7 separate regions of the Homo sapiens genome follow, and all the other regions are linked to region 1. The links are contacts of gene promoters, found by promoter capture Hi-C in human tissues and cell types (Jung and others, 2019). All regions are on one chromosome and are shown on one strand. The core of a region is centred on a gene start or on the middle of the fragment in contact, and the rest is flanking DNA. Distances in the headings are between cores, read along the strand shown.

What was found. Contacts are between HindIII fragments. The study calls those that stand out against the background at their distance.
Region 2: a contact is called between a fragment that was not itself captured here and the fragment with the promoter of TRIM13 in region 1, in 1 of the 25 tissues and cell types used here (lymphoblastoid cells).
Region 3: a fragment that was not itself captured here is called in contact with the fragment with the promoter of TRIM13 in region 1 in 1 of the 25 tissues and cell types used here (dorsolateral prefrontal cortex).
Region 4: a fragment that was not itself captured here is called in contact with the fragment with the promoter of TRIM13 in region 1 in 1 of the 25 tissues and cell types used here (adrenal gland).
Region 5: a contact is called between a fragment that was not itself captured here and the fragment with the promoter of TRIM13 in region 1, in 2 of the 25 tissues and cell types used here (IMR-90 fibroblasts and mesenchymal stem cells).
Region 6: a contact is called between a fragment that was not itself captured here and the fragment with the promoter of TRIM13 in region 1, in 1 of the 25 tissues and cell types used here (IMR-90 fibroblasts).
Region 7: a fragment that was not itself captured here is called in contact with the fragment with the promoter of TRIM13 in region 1 in 3 of the 25 tissues and cell types used here (dorsolateral prefrontal cortex, hippocampus and mesenchymal stem cells).

Annotation. Positions count from the first base shown.
Region 1 is chr13:49,995,587-49,998,383 of GRCh38, forward strand. TRIM13 (tripartite motif containing 13) reads left to right here and starts at 1,456. Exons shown (of 2, transcript NM_213590.3): 1 at 1,456-2,177. DLEU2 (deleted in lymphocytic leukemia 2) reads right to left here. Exons shown (of 14, transcript NR_152566.1): 11 at 1,488-1,833. It overlaps MIR3613 (microRNA 3613), which reads right to left and starts at 915; the gene lies at 829-915. RefSeq lists silencers at 423-472, 1,063-1,192 and an enhancer at 753-882. The HindIII fragment of the contact is 11,924 bases long and covers 1-2,797 here.
Region 2 is chr13:50,502,256-50,505,052 of GRCh38, forward strand. All of the region lies in intron 5 of DLEU1 (deleted in lymphocytic leukemia 1), which reads left to right. Among named protein-coding and RNA genes, the nearest start is that of DLEU1-AS1, 24 kb to the right of the region's middle. The HindIII fragment of the contact is 5,430 bases long and covers 1-2,797 here.
Region 3 is chr13:50,484,265-50,487,061 of GRCh38, forward strand. The region is part of intron 4 of DLEU1 (deleted in lymphocytic leukemia 1); the gene reads left to right. Among named protein-coding and RNA genes, the nearest start is that of DLEU1-AS1, 42 kb to the right of the region's middle. The HindIII fragment of the contact is 3,390 bases long and covers 1-2,797 here.
Region 4 is chr13:50,428,363-50,431,159 of GRCh38, forward strand. The region is part of intron 3 of DLEU1 (deleted in lymphocytic leukemia 1); the gene reads left to right. Among named protein-coding and RNA genes, the nearest start is that of DLEU1-AS1, 98 kb to the right of the region's middle. The HindIII fragment of the contact is 5,811 bases long and covers 1-2,797 here.
Region 5 is chr13:50,408,881-50,411,677 of GRCh38, forward strand. The region is part of intron 3 of DLEU1 (deleted in lymphocytic leukemia 1); the gene reads left to right. Among named protein-coding and RNA genes, the nearest start is that of DLEU1-AS1, 120 kb to the right of the region's middle. The HindIII fragment of the contact is 4,437 bases long and covers 1-2,797 here.
Region 6 is chr13:49,590,436-49,593,232 of GRCh38, forward strand. No RefSeq gene overlaps it. Among named protein-coding and RNA genes, the nearest start is that of RCBTB1, 6.3 kb to the left of the region's middle. The HindIII fragment of the contact is 3,491 bases long and covers 1-2,797 here.
Region 7 is chr13:50,392,648-50,395,444 of GRCh38, forward strand. All of the region lies in intron 3 of DLEU1 (deleted in lymphocytic leukemia 1), which reads left to right. Among named protein-coding and RNA genes, the nearest start is that of DLEU1-AS1, 130 kb to the right of the region's middle. The HindIII fragment of the contact is 4,618 bases long and covers 1-2,797 here.

The DNA of each region.
Region 1 (2,797 bases), core at 206-2,705:
CACAGTGTTATGAGACTGAATGACAGAAATTAAAAGAAGTGTTCTACGAAGGCAAAGTTAGGTTTCTTATAGCAGGAAGGGAGATGCACACAGAGAAGTGGGAATCTCAGGAGACGGATGTGGCCAGGGGCTTTTTACGGGGGTTGGGCTAAGCATTATTAGTCAACGGGCTGTACTGCTATTTATGGTAGGTTTTGAATACCGTTTCTCCAAAATAACCTATTTCCTCCCCAAACCCAAACTTCCTCAACTGGGATCGAACTCAATCCTACAGCGTGTTCTGAGATTCTATACTCGCCTCACTTCTCCCAAGATCGTAAATTCTGGAGGAGCCATTCCTTCATCATCCATGTTTGCATCCTTCACACCGTTCACTGGTTAAGTGCTTAGTACGTTTGCTATTGGGCAAGGTCCTCAAACGGGAGGTGGACGTCAGAATAGTCAGGTTATCGACTGAGTAACTGTTAGTGGTGGATAATTTAAAGCCAATTTGAAAGTTCATCCTTTCCCCCAAAGGCAAAAACAGGCGTTCCTTTTCTTAAAAGAGAATTTTAAATAGAATTGGGTCTCTGGTGTCCTGCCTAAAGCCCGCAAAGAAAGAGGGTACGGTTGGGGGTGGGGGTGATGGGGGATACTGAACCCTTTTCTGGTTGCGCCTTGCCCGGAGCCCCCGGCTAGAGCCCTGGCGCTCCTGGCGCGCTCCCAACGCGAATCGGTGACTCCGCAGGCCGCGCAGTGCGGAGGTGCCCGTCCCACCCTCCCCCTTGTGGGGTGCGGGGCTCCATTTCCCCAAGCCGCTGGGGTCGGCTTCTGGTCTTGAGATGCGGATGAAGTGGTGTGAAGGGTTGGGCTTTTTTTTTTGTTCCTAAAAATGCAACGAACAAAAAAAAAAGTACAACAATCCAAACCCAACCATCTTAATTGCACGGCAGCTTAACTGGGAGACTTTCTTCCCGGGCGGCCCCACCCGGGACCGCGCCGCTTCAGTCGAGCCCACCGTCTGGGCAAACGGCGTCCACTTCCCGGAGCCGCTGCCCAGCCTCTGCGGGGGGGCTTTGGGCGGGCGCAGGACTCTGGAAGGGAGAAAAGCCCGCAGCCCGGCCCTCCCCGTCCCAGGCGGCCCGCGCGGGTGGACGGCGGGAGCAGGCGGCGGTTGGAGACGCCGGAAGGAACGCGGTCTCACCACCCGGCTCCCTCCGCCAAGGCGAGGCGCGGCCGGGGAGGCGGGACACAGGCGAAGCGGGACGGGGAGGCGGGGCCGGAGGTGCAGGCGGAGGCGGGCGACGGGGAAGGGAGGGGGAGGGGGAGGGGAAAGGGAGGGGGAGGGGGAGGGGAAAGGGAGGGGGAGGGGGGAAGGGACGGGAGGGGAGGGGGAAGGGACGGGAGGGGAGGGGGAAGGGACGGGAGGGGAAGGGGAAGCGGGAGAGGGAAGGGGGCGGAGCTAGCCGGAGCCGCGAGTCCATTTTGGGGCTGTGCTTGGCGCGTACCGTGCGGTCCCTGTAGTTGGAGGACGGGCGGTCGCGCGGCCTTTCCCACTAGCCGGAGGTCGGAGATAAGTACCCGCCGCCCGGCTCCTCTCGGGAAAGCGGGGTGGTCCTCGAACCTTCAGCGAGGGTGGGGAGTTGCCCAGGTCAGCAGGGATCTGCGTGGGTTGGGGGGGCTGGCGAAGGCCGTCTGAGCTCCAGTCCGGCAGCGCGGCAGAAACCAGCGGGGCACTGTCATGGGCCTGGGGAGGAGCGGCCTGCGGAGGGCGCCGGGGCAGTGTGTCTGTGGTCCAGAAAACCTGCTCCGTCCGGAGCCTTCCTGGCCCCGCTACCAGCGTCTCCACATCCCCTAGAAAAGAAAAGACGGGTGTGGGCCTTAGGTTACAGCGCGCCGCCAGCGTTTGGTTGCATGGCGCCGGGGGAGGGCGCCCTAACCGAGAAGCTGCTTAATACAAAGAGCTCCAGGCTCCTGGCGGTTCACCAGGTCTAAACAGCCGGGCTTTATTTGTGGGGGCGATTGAAAAAATTGAGGGTCAAGATTGGGGTGCTGTGCAAATAAATGCGTTAATACTGTTCTTTTTCTTCTTTCTTTGCAGTAGCCTCTAGTTCGTTAGTCAAAACGTGAAAAAAAAGACCTGCTTTGCCCTGGGAAATAGTAACCCTGCCAAATACATCAGCTTGTAGGAGACAGAGGTAAACTACAATAATTTTCCTGTGTTATCTTTTTTTTTTAAACACCCAATTTCAATAGGCCCTAGAACCTTCCAAAATGGAACTGTGTGTAGAATACGTATGTTCCCATCCACTTTCATTGGTGGTCTTTGTTCTTTGCATATTTTGTTAAAACTTAGAAAAACAGAATTCACGTTTAGCAATTATTTATGTGGTATTTATCTTAAATATAGCCAAACATTCATATTACAAAGGAAGAAAGGGGCTTCCACACTTTTTTCCTACTTTTTTTTCCCTTCTCCTATGCTTAGTGAATTGTCAGGCTGCTAGGGCTTGTAGAACAGGGCTTGAGTTTTCTAGAGACCTTTATATAATAGGCACTTTAAAAGCAGAATTTCATTTACATAGGCACTCCTTCTAGTAGAACTTGATGGAGCTGTTAACCGGCTATACTTCCTTCTTGCACAATGGGAGCGTCCCTATCCCTCCCTAAAAATACGTTTTTTTTCCTTTCTCCCAGCTGGCTTACTAAACCTCCCTGGGAAGTCCTTTCCTAAAACCGGGCTGTTCTGTTCATTCTATACATTTATGATAGGTTATCTGGCCTTAATTCTGTCACAGCTTTTGTTCAGATATGCTCA
Region 2 (2,797 bases), core at 133-2,632, 510 kb after region 1:
TGTCACATCGATCTCTCTACTCTTTGCTTGGAGAATTCAATTGTTTACCTCTATATCCTGCATTTTCAAGAATGATAAGAAGAAGAAGTCACATTTTGATTGTCCCTTTCCAAGGGAGGGAAACCCCAGGGATCTAAAGCCCTATTTAGCTCCTTGGGGAACGGGAAGGGATGGGGGGATACATTCTTTAAAATTCTTTCTTATTCTGTTAAGCCAGTAAGAAATTAGGATTGCTTATTTGTTAACCTGGTCTCCTTGCTACAGTTTTTGGGAGACATGTTTGCCAATAATTTAAGTTCTAAAATAATGCCCTTAAATGAACAAAAAAATTGTGTTTATTAAATACAAACCAACTAGTGAACAATTGAGGCTTAGGTGAGAATTGGGTCAATGGAATGAGAAGTATATTTTTTCTCATTTCTTTTAGTGTGAAAATAAGGTCATTCTTTGCATTATAAATAGTACATGTTTATTATAGGTAATATCAATAATGTCCGTACTATCACTATTCAAAGATACTAATATTTTAGTGTCTTTTCATCCTGTCTTTTTCCAGGTGTAGTTATTATTCAATTTATAATTTGGCATCCTACCATATATATAATTTAACATCTACTCTTTTAACGTAAGTATTTCTTAATATTATCATAAATTCTTGTATAACATTCTTTTTAATGACTCCATAATATTCTACCAAGTATATATATATTACTACATATAATAGTATTACATATATAATAGTTTAACTATCTTACTATTATCAGAAAAATAATATATTTACTATAAAACTTTTTTTAATACTTTAAGTGTTAGGGTACATGTGCACAACGTGCAGGTTAGTTACATATGTATACATGTGCCATGTTGGTGTGCTGCACCCATTAACTCGTCATTTAACATTAGGTATATCGTCTCATGCTATCCCTCCCCCCCTCCCCCCACTCCACAACAGGCCCTGGTGTGTGATGTTCCCCTTCCTGTGTCCATGTGTTCTCATTGTTCAATTCCCACCTATGAGTGAGAACATGTGGTGTTTGGTTTTTTGTCCTTGCCATAGTTTGCTGAGAATGATGGTTTCCAGCTTCATCCATGTCCCTACACAGGACATGAACTCATCCTTTTTTATGGCTGCATAGTATTCCATGGTGTATATATGCCACATTTTCTTAATCCAGTCTAACATTGTTGGACATTTGGCATGGTTCCAAGTCTTTGCTATTGTGAATAGCACCACAATAAACATACATGTGCATGTGTCTTTATAGCAGCATGATTTATAATCCTTTGGGTATATACCCAGTAATGGGATTGCTGGGTCAAATGGTATTTCTAGTCCTAGATCCCTGAGGAATCGCCACACTGACTTCCACAATGGTTGAACTAGTTTACAGTCCCACCAACAGTGTAAAAGTGTTCCTATTTTCCACATCCTCTCCAGCACCTGTTGTTTCCTGACTTTTTAATGATCGCCATTCTAACTGGTGTGAGATGGTATCTCACTGTGGTTTTGATTTGCATTTCTCTGATGGCCAGTGATGATGAACATTTTTTCATGTGTCTTTGGGCTGCGTAAAAGTCTTCTTTTGAGAAGTGTCTGTTCATATCCTTCGTCCACTTTTTGATGGGGTTGTTTGTTTTTTTCTTGTAAATTTGTTTGAGTTCATTGTAGATTCTGGATATTAGCCCTTTGTCAGATGAGTAGATTGCAAAAATTTTCTCCCATTCTGTAGGTTGCCTATTCACTCTGATGGTAGTTTCTTTTGCTGTGCAGAAGCTCTTTAGTTTAATTAGATCCCATTTGTCAATTTTGGCTTTTGCTGCCATTGCTTTTGGTGTTTTAGACATGAAGTCCTTGCCCATGTCTATGTCCTGAATGGTATTGCCTAGGTTTTCTTCTAGGGCTTTTATGGTTTTATGTCTAACATTTAAGTCTTTAATCCATCTTGAATTAATTTTTGTATAAAGTGTAAGGAAGGGATCCAGTTTCAGCTTTCTACATATGGCTGGCCAGTTTTCCCAGCACCATTTATTAAATAGGGAATCATATCCCCATTTCTTGCTTTTGTCAGGTTTGTCAAAGATCAGATGGTTGTAGATATGTGGCATTATTTCCGAGGGCTCTGTTCTGTTCCATTGGTCTAGATCTCTGTTTTGGTACCAGTACCATGCTGTTTTGGTTACTGTATCCTTGTAGTATAGTTTGAAGTCAGGTATCGTGATGCCTCCAGCTTTGTTCTTTTGGCTTAGGATTGACTTGGCAATGCGGGCTCTTTTTTGGTTCCATATGAACTTTAAAGTAGCTTTTTCCAATTCTGTGAAGAAAGTCATTGGTAGCTTGATGGGGATGGCATTGAATCTATAAATTACCTTGGGCAGTATGGCCATTTTCACGATATTGATTCTTCCTACCCATGAGCATGGAAGGTTCTTCCATTTGTTTGTATCCTGTTTTATTTCATTGAGCAGTGATTTGTTGTTCTCCTTGAAGAGGTCCTTCACATCCCTTGTAAGTTGGATTCCTAGGTATTTTATTCTCTTTGAAGCAATTGTGAATGGGAGTTCACTCATGATTTGGCTCTCTGTTTGTCTGTTATTGGTGTATAAGAATGCTTGTGATTTTTGCACATTGATTTTGTATCCTGAGACTTTGCTGAAGTTGCTTATCAGCTTAAGGAGATTTTGGGCTGAGATGATGGGGTTTTCTAGATATACAATCACGTCATCTGCAAACAAGGACAATTTGACTTCCTCTTTTCCTAATTGAATACCCTTTATTTCCTTCTCCTGCCTGATTGCC
Region 3 (2,797 bases), core at 116-2,615, 490 kb after region 1:
AAAAGAATTACGCCTTGGTACCAATTCAGTCAGGTGGGCTCACATGATTGACTTTTAGCCCCATCTTTTGCTTAAAAATAAAAATTACATAGTACTGTAGGAAGACTGTAGGGAGCTGAGTGGGGACTAAGAGAGCATACAAACTTTATTTTACAACTATCCAGTCCACCACCTATCTCACAGATATGGGTGCAATTTCTAAGTCAAACACTATCTCATAACTGACTATATATGGCTTTTCCTGGGGTGAAATACTTTGTTTTTGCTTTCGGCATTCCTTCCCTGACTTGCCTTTTTAGTTGTTGTGGGGACTATGTTTTTAAATCCACGAGATGCAAGGAAACAATGGACGCCTTTCTTCGCTGCTTGTAAAGGTCATATGAGAAACAAGCATGAGCAGAGCAGTTCTGACTAGACGTGCAAGCACACACAGAACGGGACACATTCACCGCGTCGTTTGTCAGCATTAACCCTTTGCTTATACCAAGAAAAGGAGGCTGTGTTTCTATCTTCAGATGGTTTTGGACTGAATTTATGTGAAGTAGAAAACAGGAGTGAATCACTGAAATTTTTGCTTGCTCTGTTAGGGCTTGGGAAGACCCAAAATGGAGGTGGCGTCTGAGTCCAGGAAGAAAGAGGACGTTTATGAAACAAGAGGTCAGGGATTTTCCTCTCAGGTCTCACGACTGTAAGCAGATCAGAGCTGCCAGATGACTATGCAATGCCTCTAGCACCATAAGGAATATTCCCCTCCAACACCAGTTAAAAGAAAAATAATAACAAACTAGAAATAAGCATAGAAAGTACAGATAAGTACAAGATAGTAAAAAATACTTTAACTTTTATTCTTTTTCCGTGTTATTATTTTAATAGTTTTTATAAAAAATTAAGTATCAAATTCTCACAAAGGTTATTTTCTCATCATTTAGTGTTCTCACCTTGTTGGGGGCCTAAACACTTGTGTTGCTTTTGGGTAATCTAGTACTGGCTCAGATCCATCTCCTCAGAAGTCCAAGAAATTACTTGTCAGGAAACTTGGTAGGATGGTCTGCTCACCAACGTAGTTTATTGACTGCTGCTTTTACACTGATCTAAAAATACTCTTTATTTTTGGTTGGAATATGGCTTATTTTGGGAGAAACTGGTGAGGTTAGGTCATCCTCAGATTTCTGCAAAATATTTTATTATAATAGACCTAGCTATTCATGGGAAGATTATAATACCTCATGGATCATCTGGGGAAAATACCTGGCCTTCAAGGCCACTATTTCCAGCAGCAAACATAAAAATCCTTTAATCCATGTCCCACGCTTAGGTTTCTTAATTCATGAAATTCTGCTTATGATTGCCACATATAAATAAGAAAGGACTTGAACATATGTGAGCTATAAGAAACTTTTGTAAAGCAATGCAACTCATGGGTTTAAACAAATACTTTTGGCAGCTTTGTTAAGCATACATGCAAAAAGTGGGTTTGCTTCACCAGTAAGGGATACAGAAAAATCCAAGCTCTCTGACCTACATGTGACACACACAGGATAATAATTAATGATAATAATAAGTTTTAAAAAATCTAGTATGCCTTTCTATCAGGATGGAGCAAGAGATTAATTACACATTGTACATCATAATGTCTGAAAGCCTGAGAACTTGTGCAATCTGAATTAAATTTTATGAAACAAAATGCATGGAATTGATGCTTTCATTTTGAATACACAAGTCTTTTTCTTCTTATATTCTTTCCCCCTCTCTTTTTTCCTTCTCTCCCTCCTTATCTTAGCACCCCTCCTCCCTGCTTCTAAAAGAAGAGAATACTGTTCTCAGGACTCTCTCAGCCTTTCTCAATTGAAAGCAATGATTCTGAGTCACTCCTTTATATTAAGTGAAATACTCTTGCATGAATCTCTAGGGATGAAGTGATTAGCCCAGCAAGAAGCCAGCGGATTCTGGTTGTCCGTGAAAGTGGTAGAAAGAATTAAATACAATTTTGCAAAGATAACACTAAAAGAATGGTATTTTCTTTCAAAACATGTCCTTTTCTGAAACATCAGTGCAGACGTATGTCAAGATAGAAACTGGATCATATTTCTAACAGTTGAAGACTCAGATTTCATCAAACAGGACTGCTTGTTCTCATGCCCAAACTGTATCCTACACTGTCCTGTTGTCTGGACTATAATGGAACATAACATTAACTTCGGACAGTGGAGGTTGTGTTGGTGCCAACCTTGCTAATGAACATGTGGTTTCCATAATAATGTGGCTACTTGCATATTAGGTGGCAAGGTGCCAGGTACGTACTTAATGTTGAGGGGGCAACTGATGTAAAAAGTACCATCTCCTGATATGATTGCATTTCCAAAAATACTCTGCACCTGGACTGAAACTCGGCAAAATGAGGAATGTCAGTCAGCATCAGGAAGTTTAAGGCATTGACAGATAAGGAGGAGCCCTGCAGATTCCAGGCATGCACTCTGTGAGCCTCAAGCATCCATCACAAGGTCTTGATGATAACAAAATGGGTAACGTCACAGTGTGAAAAACAGCCCGACCCAGGAGGGTGGTGGGTGGGGGAAGGTTTAGGACCACTCCCTGCTTCAAGTTCCTGGTGTTCTGGACTCAGGCACTTGAGGGTCTGAAAGCTAGAAGACAGTGAAATGAGTTACAGTTTAATGATATTCCCACTACACTGACAAAATGGATTCAGTTACATAATGGTAGCATTAAATGTTATTAAGAAGGGATCCAAAGTCTTGGGGCCAGACTTTCACAAAATCATGATAAGCTGCGAAAAACA
Region 4 (2,797 bases), core at 169-2,668, 430 kb after region 1:
ATGAACTTCGAATTGTCTTTTAATGGTCCTCAGAAAAGTTTTATTAGGTACATGGTGGACCTGGGGAAACTTGTTGGGACTTGTAGGTTATATAATTCTTTTAGCTTCATTGCTAGGATGCTTGGGACTTTTAACCATGACTTCATTGCTCTTGAATATGGGTTTCATGCATCTGGTTGCTTGGCTGTTTTCAGAAAGTAGGGGTAACAGTCCCATCAATGTATCATCTTTTCCATGATTAGAAAAGAAACCTGAGAATGCTTTCCTAGCAAGTATGTAGACACAGTTTCCTCCAACACCTGTTCTTTCAAGTCATGAGACATTTGAAAATAACCACACAAGTTCCTGCATCTGAGCCTGTCTTTTGAATATCTGTTTGAGCAACATGAAGTTTTGCTAGTGTGAGCTAATGTCAGCATGCACCCTCCTCCCCACTGCCTGTGGATTCAAGTATGGCAAATGCCTGTTGATTTGGAATGACCAGGAGATGGCTTATTTTGGTTCTGTATCATTAATCAACAGATGTGTAAACAGATTTTTAAAAGTAAAATGCCTAATGTCACATTGCTATTACATTAAGGAGCTAGGATTCTGACTCCCTTTTCTAAACATTGATCCACACTGTGATGCTTTGGAAAATTTAAAAATTATGCAACAATGCACTCTCATTGTGAAAAAAATGAGAAAACATAGATGGAAAAAAAGAAATGAACCTCAAAAATTCCACTATTCAGCGATAACCACTGTTAACATTTTCAGGCACTTCTTTTCAGTTTTTTTTCTACAAAATGTAATTGCAAATGCATTTTCAAAGATACTGCTTTACAATTTCCTTTTTCCCTTTAATAATATTTTGGGTTTTGTTCATGTTCTTCTAAATCAGAACATAGATCTGCATTATCATTTTAAAAACTTGCATTGTTTTCCATTCCAGGATGCTAGTACTATTTATTAAATATTTCATTATTTTTTTCTCCTCCTGAGCTTGACTACTGTATTAGTCTGTTCTCTTGTTGCTAATAAAGACATACTCGAGACTGGGTAATTTATAAAGGAAAGAGGTTTAATTGACTCACGGTTCCACACAACTGGGGAAGCCTCACAATCATGGTGGAAGGCAAGGAGGAGCAAGCAGGCAAGAGAGAGCTTATGTGGATGGCAGCAGGCAAGAGAAAGCTTGTGCAGGGGAACTCCTCTTCATAAAACCATCAGATCTCCTGTGACTTATTCACTATCAGGAGAACAGCACAGGAAAGACCTGCCCTCATGATTCAATTACCTCCCACTTGGTCCCTCCCATGACACGTGGGAATTATGGGAGCTACAATTCAAGATGAAATTTGGGTGGGGACACAGCCAAACCATATCAACTACCAATTGATTAACCAAATCCCTCAGTTTTAGAACATTTGTTGAATGTTAATAATATTTCAAGTTTGCGCTATGCACTTTACATATGTTATTTCATTTAGGTAACTTGCTTACAATTTCTTGATATTACTGACTATCCTTATTCTCTGTATACCTTTCTGTAGGATTGTACACTGATTATTTAAGGGCTTTTCATAAATATTGCCAGAGTATGCTCCAGAAAGGTTCTAACAATTTACATTCACAAAGCACAAAGCATCCAGAGTGTTTAATTCTCTACATCCACACAATCAATGGGTATTATCAACTTTTAAAATCTTTTCTAATCTTCTAAGGAAAAACGGTAACTCATTCTTTCACCTTGGAATTCTTTGATCACTAGAGAAGCAGAATTTTGTCTCTTGATGTATTCATATTTTTCTCTAAAATATTTTAAATCCTATATATTTGAACATATTAAAAAGTATATTTTGGCCAGATGTGGTGGCTCATGCCTGTCATCCCAGCACTTTGGGAGGCCGAAGTGGGCAGATCACGAGGTCAGGAGATCAAGACCATCCTGGCTAACACGGTGAAACCCTGTCTCTACTAAAAATACAAAAAATTAGCCAGGTGTGGTGGCGGGTGCCTGTAGTCCCAGCTACTCGGGAGGCTGAGGCAGGAGAATGGTGTGAACTCAGGAGGCAGTGCTTGCAGTGAGCCAAGATCGTGCCACTGCACTCCAGCCTGGGCGACAGAGCAAGACTCCGTCTCAAAAAAAAAAAAAAGTATATTTTAATTATATGTACTCACATGTACATAATTTCATCAATGCATGCCTTTAAAATCATGAAGTTCTCTTTTTATTGCAATTTTTTTTGTTTGCTTTATCCTCTTCTTCTTTCCTTTTACATCATCCTTTCTGTCCCTTAAACAGCCTTTAAAACAACATTGAATGCATCTTTCCATATTTTTATATGTCCTTATATAATCCTTATATAATGTATGACATACATGCATACACATACACTATATTATATACACATGTATGTGTGTATATATATATATATATATATACAGTTTGTTTTATAGATTTTTTTAAAAAGTGGGATCATATATTACATATTTTTCTGCATCCTGCTTTTCTCACTCAACAGTACCTCATTTGAAAACCCTCCAAGTTGTTTGATGGAGTTACAATTTATCATTTTCAGTGACTGAAATTTTTTAAAGGCATGCTCCTATTGATAGGCATTGCTTGTGTTTCTGGTTTTTCTTTTTCTTCTACCACTACTAACAATGCTACAGTTAATATCTTTTAACATATGTCTTTACAAAGAAATTGATTTTATGGAACACACAGGAATGTTATTGGTAAGTGGCCTAAGTGTGGATACGTGTTTTACCCCTAAGAAATGATGCCAGATTGCTTTGCCCGAAGGTCCAA
Region 5 (2,797 bases), core at 190-2,689, 410 kb after region 1:
AAAATGCAACCAACTGACTCATTTTCTAAGTGAATGACATATTTACTCTACTCTTTAAGTTTAAACTCTAACCAATTCCCCAATCCTTAGTTCCCATGAAATGTAATGTTCTCTTCCTAAAATGTTTGGCCAAGTTGGGGAAGGTGGGCATGGCAGTGTGAGCCTGTAGCCAGGTTCCAAGGTTCGCTTGAGGTTAGGAGGTTGAGACTAGCCTGGGCAATATGGCAAGACTCTGTATCCACAAAAAAAAAAAAAAAAATTAAAAATTAAATGTTTGGTCTTCTACAACCTGGCTTTCCACTTCTCATTCCCAATCATGCTCTGGGACCACCTCTTTCCTGTGCTGAGGAAGGCTAAGGAAGCACTGTGTTCTTTGAACACAGTGCTCAATCCATCCTGCATTGATGCCTTTGCTATGACAGTTTCCTCTGGTCTCTTCCTCCTCTGAGTCTAGCTTGAGGGCCACTTCCGAACAGCTGCAGAGTTGAGCTGCTCCTCGGTACACTTCACTGTTGAACCAACCTGGGCCACAGGTGTTGCAGTGAGGTTGTCTTCAGAGCCTCACCCTACAGGAAGAAAGTCTGTGAAGTTTCTGGCCCTGGCACAAAGCTGCAGAATCTTGGTGAATCAAACAACTTCTCCAAGCCTCAAAGAAGGCACTTTAAAAATTGTGAAGCACTAACTGAAGGAGAGGAGAGTGTCAAGGATTCCATCCTCCACTTACTAGTAGCTGTCTTATTCATTTGGGACTGCCGACCCCCAGATAGCCTTCATCCCTGGAAATGTGCCTCAGATGCATGTCTCTTCACATGCTTGGGCCTTCCAGAATGTACCAAAAGCCAGGGTTAAACAACGTCAGCTGGATGAACACATTTCAGTGGCAAAGGCTGTTGGAAACTACCACTGTGTTACATTTCACTTTAAACTCCTCACCTTGAAGTGAAGCTAAGTCAGGCCAGAGAATTGAATGGATTTGCCCTTGGCCACAGTATGAGGTGGTGGAGTAAGCGGAAGGAGAATGTGGTATGTGTTGCAGGCTGTCAGTATTTGCCAGACTATGGTCTTTTAAAAAATATATACATACATTGCACAAAGAGTTTGGCATTATAAAAAGAATCTTTTAAGTACCACAGTCTTTTATCCAGAACATTATTAAGAACTTTTTATTAAAAATTAAGATGCCTCAGAAACCATATAAAATTTTAACAGGCTCTACCTTTCCACTTCGCCTTTTCCAGGGCACCTCAGGAGAGGTGGTAGAATTCTCAAACATTTGGAGAGCTCTGCGAGGAACATTCTACTTTGCCAATTTGTCCCTGTATTGGCCCAGGACAGCCATTTACCACCTTGTTTTTGGTTATTTCAGCTGCTGCTAGGCGTTCTCCTTCAAACACACCTGGATTGCTGTGAGGACACTGCCCCACAGGCGGAACACAATGTGTTTCTCAGAGCTGCGGACTGTGGGCTGTAGGCTCCCACAGCCCTGTGTGTGTGAGCCCGTTGGCGCTCACCAAGCTCTTCTGAAGTTCTCTGGTTTCCTCTGACTTCTCTTCTGGATGGGAACTTAGGTACGGGACCAGTCCCATATATATTCATCAGTGCAGGTCCCTTTGTTCAACTCAAATGAGCACCACATGGGGTTCCTTCTTTCTGTGGGCCTCAATCCCTTCTGTGCTTGTCTTTTAAACTAATCTGCTCACATGGGGAGAGTCTTAAAATTTTTCCTGAATGTACCTCTTTTTATCTTCAAGAGACCCTTTGCCATTCTAGGGTGCTGTAATTTGACAAATAAATCCTTGTCCCACTTTCCCCTTCCCTGGTTTCTCACCTAGATCCTGGCCTTTCGTTCACCTGCCGTCTTTCAGAGTGGAGAGTACTCACCCTTCAGTCTCCTATTCACTGCAGTAACCCAAATTCCCTTCTCTTGGGTGGTCTCCTTTATCACTTTCGTATTTCTCTAATTCTAATAGCAAGACTTCAGGCCCAGCTTGAGAAAGCATGCATTTTCCTCCTTCATGTTCGTACAGTCCATTGGACATCCTTACCATCAGCTCTTGTTGGTTGAAAGATCTGAAAACTTTCAACTGGCCATTTCCTGAGGTTCTCTTTTTTGTTCATGGAGAAGCAACTGGAGCCCTTCAGTCTGGGCACAGTCAGGAATTTTCTGGATTGCTGCCATTATTCTTTTATTCAGTAAACATTTGCTGAGTCCCTTCCATATAAAAGTCAGTATCCCAGGGGCTGGGGATACAAGAACATGACCAAGGCCCTGCCTAAAGGGGCTTGCAGGCTGGTGCGGGAGACACAGTGACACATGTTGCCTTCTATTGGATACCAGTGCAATAGGTTGGAGTGGGAGCAGGATGTATGGGATGCTCTGCCCCATGCCAGAGGATGGACCACCTCATTCAGCAAGGGAAGGGGTGTCAGGGAAAGCTGTCACCAAAAAGCCCTAGTTGAACTGAGCTGCGAATCACAATGAGTCATTCGCCAGGCAAAGTCAGCCAGGGCATTCCTGGTGGAGGCAGCCACACAGGCAAAGGTTCAGAAGTGTGCAAGGGGGTTGACTATGTCCATTCTTTTTATGAATGTTGTCAAAGCTTCAGTAATCTTGCCCCTGTGCGTTTCTTGTCTGCCCTGCAGGCAGAATGAACTGTGAGTGGGTTATCAGGAAAGGTCAAAGACTGCATGGCTGGTGTGAGGGGCTGTGGGGCTGGGCCAGGGAAGCGGGAGGGAAGGGTGAGTCACTTGAAAGTTTTGTGTGCTGAGACATGGCTCTTAAAGGAGTTCTGGGGTT
Region 6 (2,797 bases), core at 142-2,641, 410 kb before region 1:
AACCTTAGGTAGAATCCTGGTTCCAATTTTATTTTTTAAGAGATGGGGGTCTCACTCTGTCACCCAGCCTGGAGTGCAGTGGCACCATCACAGCCCACTGCAGCCTCAAACTCCTGGGCTCAAAAGATCCTCTGGCCTTGGCCTCCTAAAAGGTTGGGATTACAGGTGTGAGTCACCACGCCCAGCCCCTTGGTTCCAATTTTTTTAAGCTATAAATAATATTTTGTAAAGAATCAGAAATTTAATATGGACTGGATATTAGATAGTATTAGGAGATTACTGGGTTTTTTAGATGTGGTAATAGTAATATTAAGAACATCCTGGCTGGGCATGGTGGCTTATGCCTGTAATCCCAGCCCTTTGGGAGGCTAAGGCGGGAGGATTGCTTGAGCCCAGGAGTCTGAGACTAGCCTGGGCAACATGACGAAACCCTATCTCTACCAAAAATTAGCCAGGCAAGATGGCACACAGCTGTGATCCCAGCTACTCGGGAAGCTGTGGTGGGAGGATTGCTTGAGTCCAGGAGGTCAAGGCTGCAGTGAGCTATGATTGCACCACTGCACTCCAGTCTGGGCAACAGAGCAAGACCTTGTCTCAAAAAACAAAAAAACAAACAAACAAAACAAAAAAACAAAGAAAGAATGTCCCTATTTTTATGAGATGTGTACCAGAATAATTAAGGACAGAGTGTAATGAGGTCTGCAAATGGTTCACACAAAAAATTAATACTGTATATATCCATGTCCATAAAGAAAGAGAAAATATGGCAAAATGTTTGCAATTGTTAAATCGAGGAGCTATTATTTATACTTTTATTTAAACTTTGAAATTTTCTTTCTTTTTTTTTTTTTTTTTTTGATATGGCGTCTCGCTCTCTTGCCCAGGTTGGACTGCAGTGGCGTGATCTCAGCTCACTGCAACCTCCACCTCTGAGGTTCAAGTGACTCTCATGCCTCAGCCTCCCCAGTAGCTAGGATTACAGGTGTGCACCATCACGTCTGGCTAATTTTTGTATTTTTAGTAGAGATGGGGTTTCACTATGTGTGATCCACCCACTTTGACCTCCCAAAGTGCTGGGATTACAGATGAGAGCCACCACGTCCGGCTAAACTTTGAAATTTTCATAGCAAAATGTTGTAAGGTGGGATGAGATGTGCCCTTTATATTTCAAACTAAGAAAGCAGGATATTTCAGTAATTTATTTATTCATAAAGATCTTTTGAATGCCTGCCATGTGCTAGGCACTGTAATAAGGTCTGGGTGTACCTTGGTGATTAAAACAGTAATGTTCTCTTTTATAAATGTTATGCTGCATTACCCAATCTCTCCTTTAAGACTGAAGGATTTATTCCCCCAGCTTTTGGGAAGCTTGTATGCTGACAGCCTTCTTCAGTGACTGTCTTGCTAAAGAAAGCTGCCTTATTCAAGGTCCAGTCACCTTATAGGGGCAGCCTGCAACAAATGACTAGTCGCGCCAGGCCTAATCTTTAATTTCAATGCAATTACCATTTTTTCTTGTTTTCAAAACTTAACAAAATTATTCTAATGTTTATATGTGAGAAGAGCCAGGAAATACCAAAAAAGAATTCTAGAAAAGAAGAGTGATGGCTATGAAGAGACAGAGTAGGAGCAATTTACTAATCCATCATAGTGATTTCAAGAGTTGAGTATTGACTGCTGCCTTCTAAGAACTTAAAAGGCCCTCTCCGCTCTCCCCTCTCCCCTCTCCCCTCTCCCCTCTCCCCACGGTCTCCCTCTCATGCGGAGCCGGAGCTGGACTGTACTGCTGCCATCTCGGCTCACTGCAACCTCCCTGCCTGATTCTCCTGCCTCAGTCTGCCGAATGCCTGCGATTGCAGGCACGCGCCGCCACGCCTGACTGGTTTTGGTGGAGACGGGGTTTCGCTGTGTTGGCCGGGCCGGTCTCCAGCCCCTAACCGCGAGTGATCCGCCAACCTCGGCCTCCCGAGGTGCCGGGATTGCAGACGGAGTCTCGTTCACTCAGTGCTCAATGGTGCCCAGGCTGGAGTGCAGTGGCGTGATCTCGGCTCACTACAACCTACACCTCCCAGCCGCCTGCCTTGGCCTCCCAAAGTGCCGAGATTGCAGCCTCTGCCCGGCCGCCACCCTGTCTGGGAAGTGAGGAGTGTCTCTGCCTGGCCGCCCATCGTCTGGGCTGTGAGGAGCCCCTCTGCCTGGCTGCCCAGTCTGGAAAGTGAGGAGCGTCTCCGCCCGGCCGCCATCCCATCTAGGAAGTGAGGAGCGCCTCTTCCCAGCCGCCATCACATCTAGGAAGTGAGGAGCGTCTCTGCCCGGCCGCCCATCGTCTGAGATGTGGGGAGCGCCTCTGCCCCGCCGCCCCATCTGGGATGTGAGGAGCGCCTCTGCCCGGCCGAGACCCCGTCTGGGAGGTGAGGAGCGTCTCTGCCCGGCCGCCCCGTCTGAGAAGTGAGGAGACCCTCTGCCTGGCAACCACCCCGTCTGAGAAGTGAGGAGCCCCTCCGCCCGGCAGCTGCCCCGTCTGAGAAGTGAGGAGCCTCTCCGCCCGGCAGCCACCCCATCTGGGAAGTGAGGAGCGTCTCCGCCCGGCAGCCACCCCGTCCGGAAGGGAGGTGGGGGGGGTCAGCCCCCCGCCCGGCCAGCCGCCCCATCTGGGAGGGAGGTGGGGGGTCAGCCCCCCCGCCCGGCCAGCCGTGCCGTCCGGGAGGGAGGTGGGGGGGTCAGCCCCCCGCCCGGCCAGCCGCCCCGTCCGGGAGGTGAGGGGCGCCTCTGCCCGGCCGCCCCTACTGGGAAGTGA
Region 7 (2,797 bases), core at 105-2,604, 400 kb after region 1:
GGGTGGAGCCCCCTTTCCTGGTGGGTTATGGACTCCCTTATATCAGCAGATGAATAGAGGTTAAGAAGCATCACGAGTCAGCTTTATTTAGTTCTTATCTGGACATGGACAAGGTTACAGTCTACCCAGATATGCAGAGAGTATTCAGTGCTACATACTCAAGCTCCTTTCCTGGCTAAATTTCTGTTGGTTGCTCCCATTCCTATAACTGGAACATCACCTGTTAATTTCTTAATGTATGTGCACACAACAGATTCTTACTATGTATTCTCTGTCTAGCCAGGAGCATTACAACTGCTTCCACCACACCACCTCATTTGGCTATCTGAGTCTTCGGGTTAATTTCTGAGCAATTAGTGCTGTTGTGGTCATTGGGTTTTGTTTTGTTTTGTTTTGTTTTGTTTTTAGGCTCAATCTTATCAGATTGGATGCCTCTTGCTTTGAACCCACACTTTGTTGCCTCACCCTTATGACTCCTCTATTTCCCTCTTCATCCTTTTATTAAACAAAACTTATTAACTCTGTAATCAGACCAGCAGCATTGTGCAATAGGCACAAATGTTAGGTGCCTTACACATGCAATTTTGTGCCCAACTTTGGCAGCAGTTGTTTTTATTCTGTCTTCACAGATGAGGAAATGGAGGCCCAGTGAAGACACAGGAGAAGTATTAGTGACCTGCTACTTTTAGATATAATCTGTATAGAGAAATAATATGGATATAAAAGAAGTTGCTAAAAATAATCGTAATATCTGTATATTGTAAACCAGCAGTCCCCAATGTTTTTGGCACCGAGGACAGGTTTTGTGGAAGACAATTCTTCCACAGACCAGGGGCGGTCGGGGGATGGTTTCAGGATGATTCAAGCACATTATATTAATTTTGCAATTTATTTCTATTATTATTACATTGTAATATGTAATGAAATAATTTTACAACTCACCATAATGTAGAATCAGTGGAAGCCCTGAGCTTGTTTTCCTACAAGCTTATATGGGACTCCATATGGGGTTGATGGGAGACAGTGACAGATCATCAGGCAGGCATTAGATTCTAATAAGGAGCATGCAACCTAGATTCCTCCCATGTGCAGTTCACAATAGGGTTTGCGTTCTTGTGAGGCTCCAGTGCCGCCGCTGATCTGACAGGAGGCGGAGCTCAGGCAGTAATGTGAGCAGTGGGGAGCAGCTGTGAATATGATGAAGCTTCCCTTGCTCGCCCACTGCTCACCTCCTGCTGTGTGGCTTGGTTCCTAACAGGCCATGAACCAGTATTGGTCCACGTGGCCCAGGGGCTGGGGATCCCTGTTGTAAACTACTTAACATTGCTAAGAAAAACTAAAGAAGATATAAATAAATGGAACAATATTCTGAATTCTTGGAATGAAAGAATCAATATTGTTAGTTGTCTCCAAATTGATGTATAAATTCAAAGCATTCCCAGTGAAAATCCCAGAAGGCTTTTTTTTTCTTTTATCTTTTTTTTTTTTTTTGGTAGAAGTTGATAAGATGATTCTAAAATTTATATAGAAATGCAAAGGACTTAGAATAGCCAAGATAATTTTGAAAAACAACAAAGTTGGGGGACTCATACTACCTAATTTTGAGACATAAAACTATTGTAATCAAGGTAGTGTGGTAATGGTATCAAGATGGACAATATATAAGTAGATATAATGGAAACATACATCTCATGTATCTGGTGAATTGACTTTTATAAAGGTTTAAAGGCACTTCAACAGAGAAAGCATAGTCTTCTTAACAATTGATCATCCATTCATAAAAACAGGAAAAAAAAAAAGCAGAAAACTCCTTTGATTCAAACCTTGCAACATATCCAAATCCAAAAGAGATCATAGGCCTACTTTCAAGATCTAAAAATATAAAATTTCTAGAAGGAAACAGAAGAGAACATCTTTGTGACAAGGTATTAGGAAAAATGTTTATAAATCCCATACCAAAAGAATAAACCATAAAAGAAAAAAATATAAATTGGACTTCATTCAAATTAAGAACCTCTATTCTTTGCAAGAAACTTAAGAAAATGAAGAATATCCACCTATTGGAAGAAAATATTTTCAAATCACATATCTAATAAGACTTGCATACAGAATATATAAAGAATTCCCTTAACATAGTAATAAGAGAACAAATAAACCAGTAAAATAGGGCAAAATATTAGAACAGGTACTTTACCATAAAGGACATATGGATGGCAGATAAATGCATTAAAAATGTTCAATATCATTATTCCTTAGGGGCAGATTAAAACCACACTGAGATAGCACTACACATCTGTTAGAATAAAGACTGACCATAGCAAGTCGAGGGCAGGAAGCAACTGGAACTCTCATGTACTGCTGATGGATGTGTAAAATGGTACAATCATTCTAGAAAATAGCTAGTTTCTTTAAAAGCTAAACATATAGATAGCAAATAACCCAGTCATTTTACAGGTATTTACTGAAGAGCAATCAAAGTATGGGTCTATACAAGGACTGAACATGATTATTCATAGAAGCTTTATTTTAATAGTCAAAAACTAGAAACAACCCATATGTCCATCAGTGTCCATCAATAGATGAATGGATAAATAAACGGTGGTATAGCTATACAATGGGATACTTATCAATAAAATAAATGAACTATTAGCACATGCAACATGAGTGAAATTCAATGTAATTATACTGATAGAAGCAGATAAAAATGACATACTGTATGATTTTATTTATACACAAATCTAGAAAATTCAGATATTTATAGTGACAGAAAGCAGATAAGTAGTTGCCTGGGGATAGG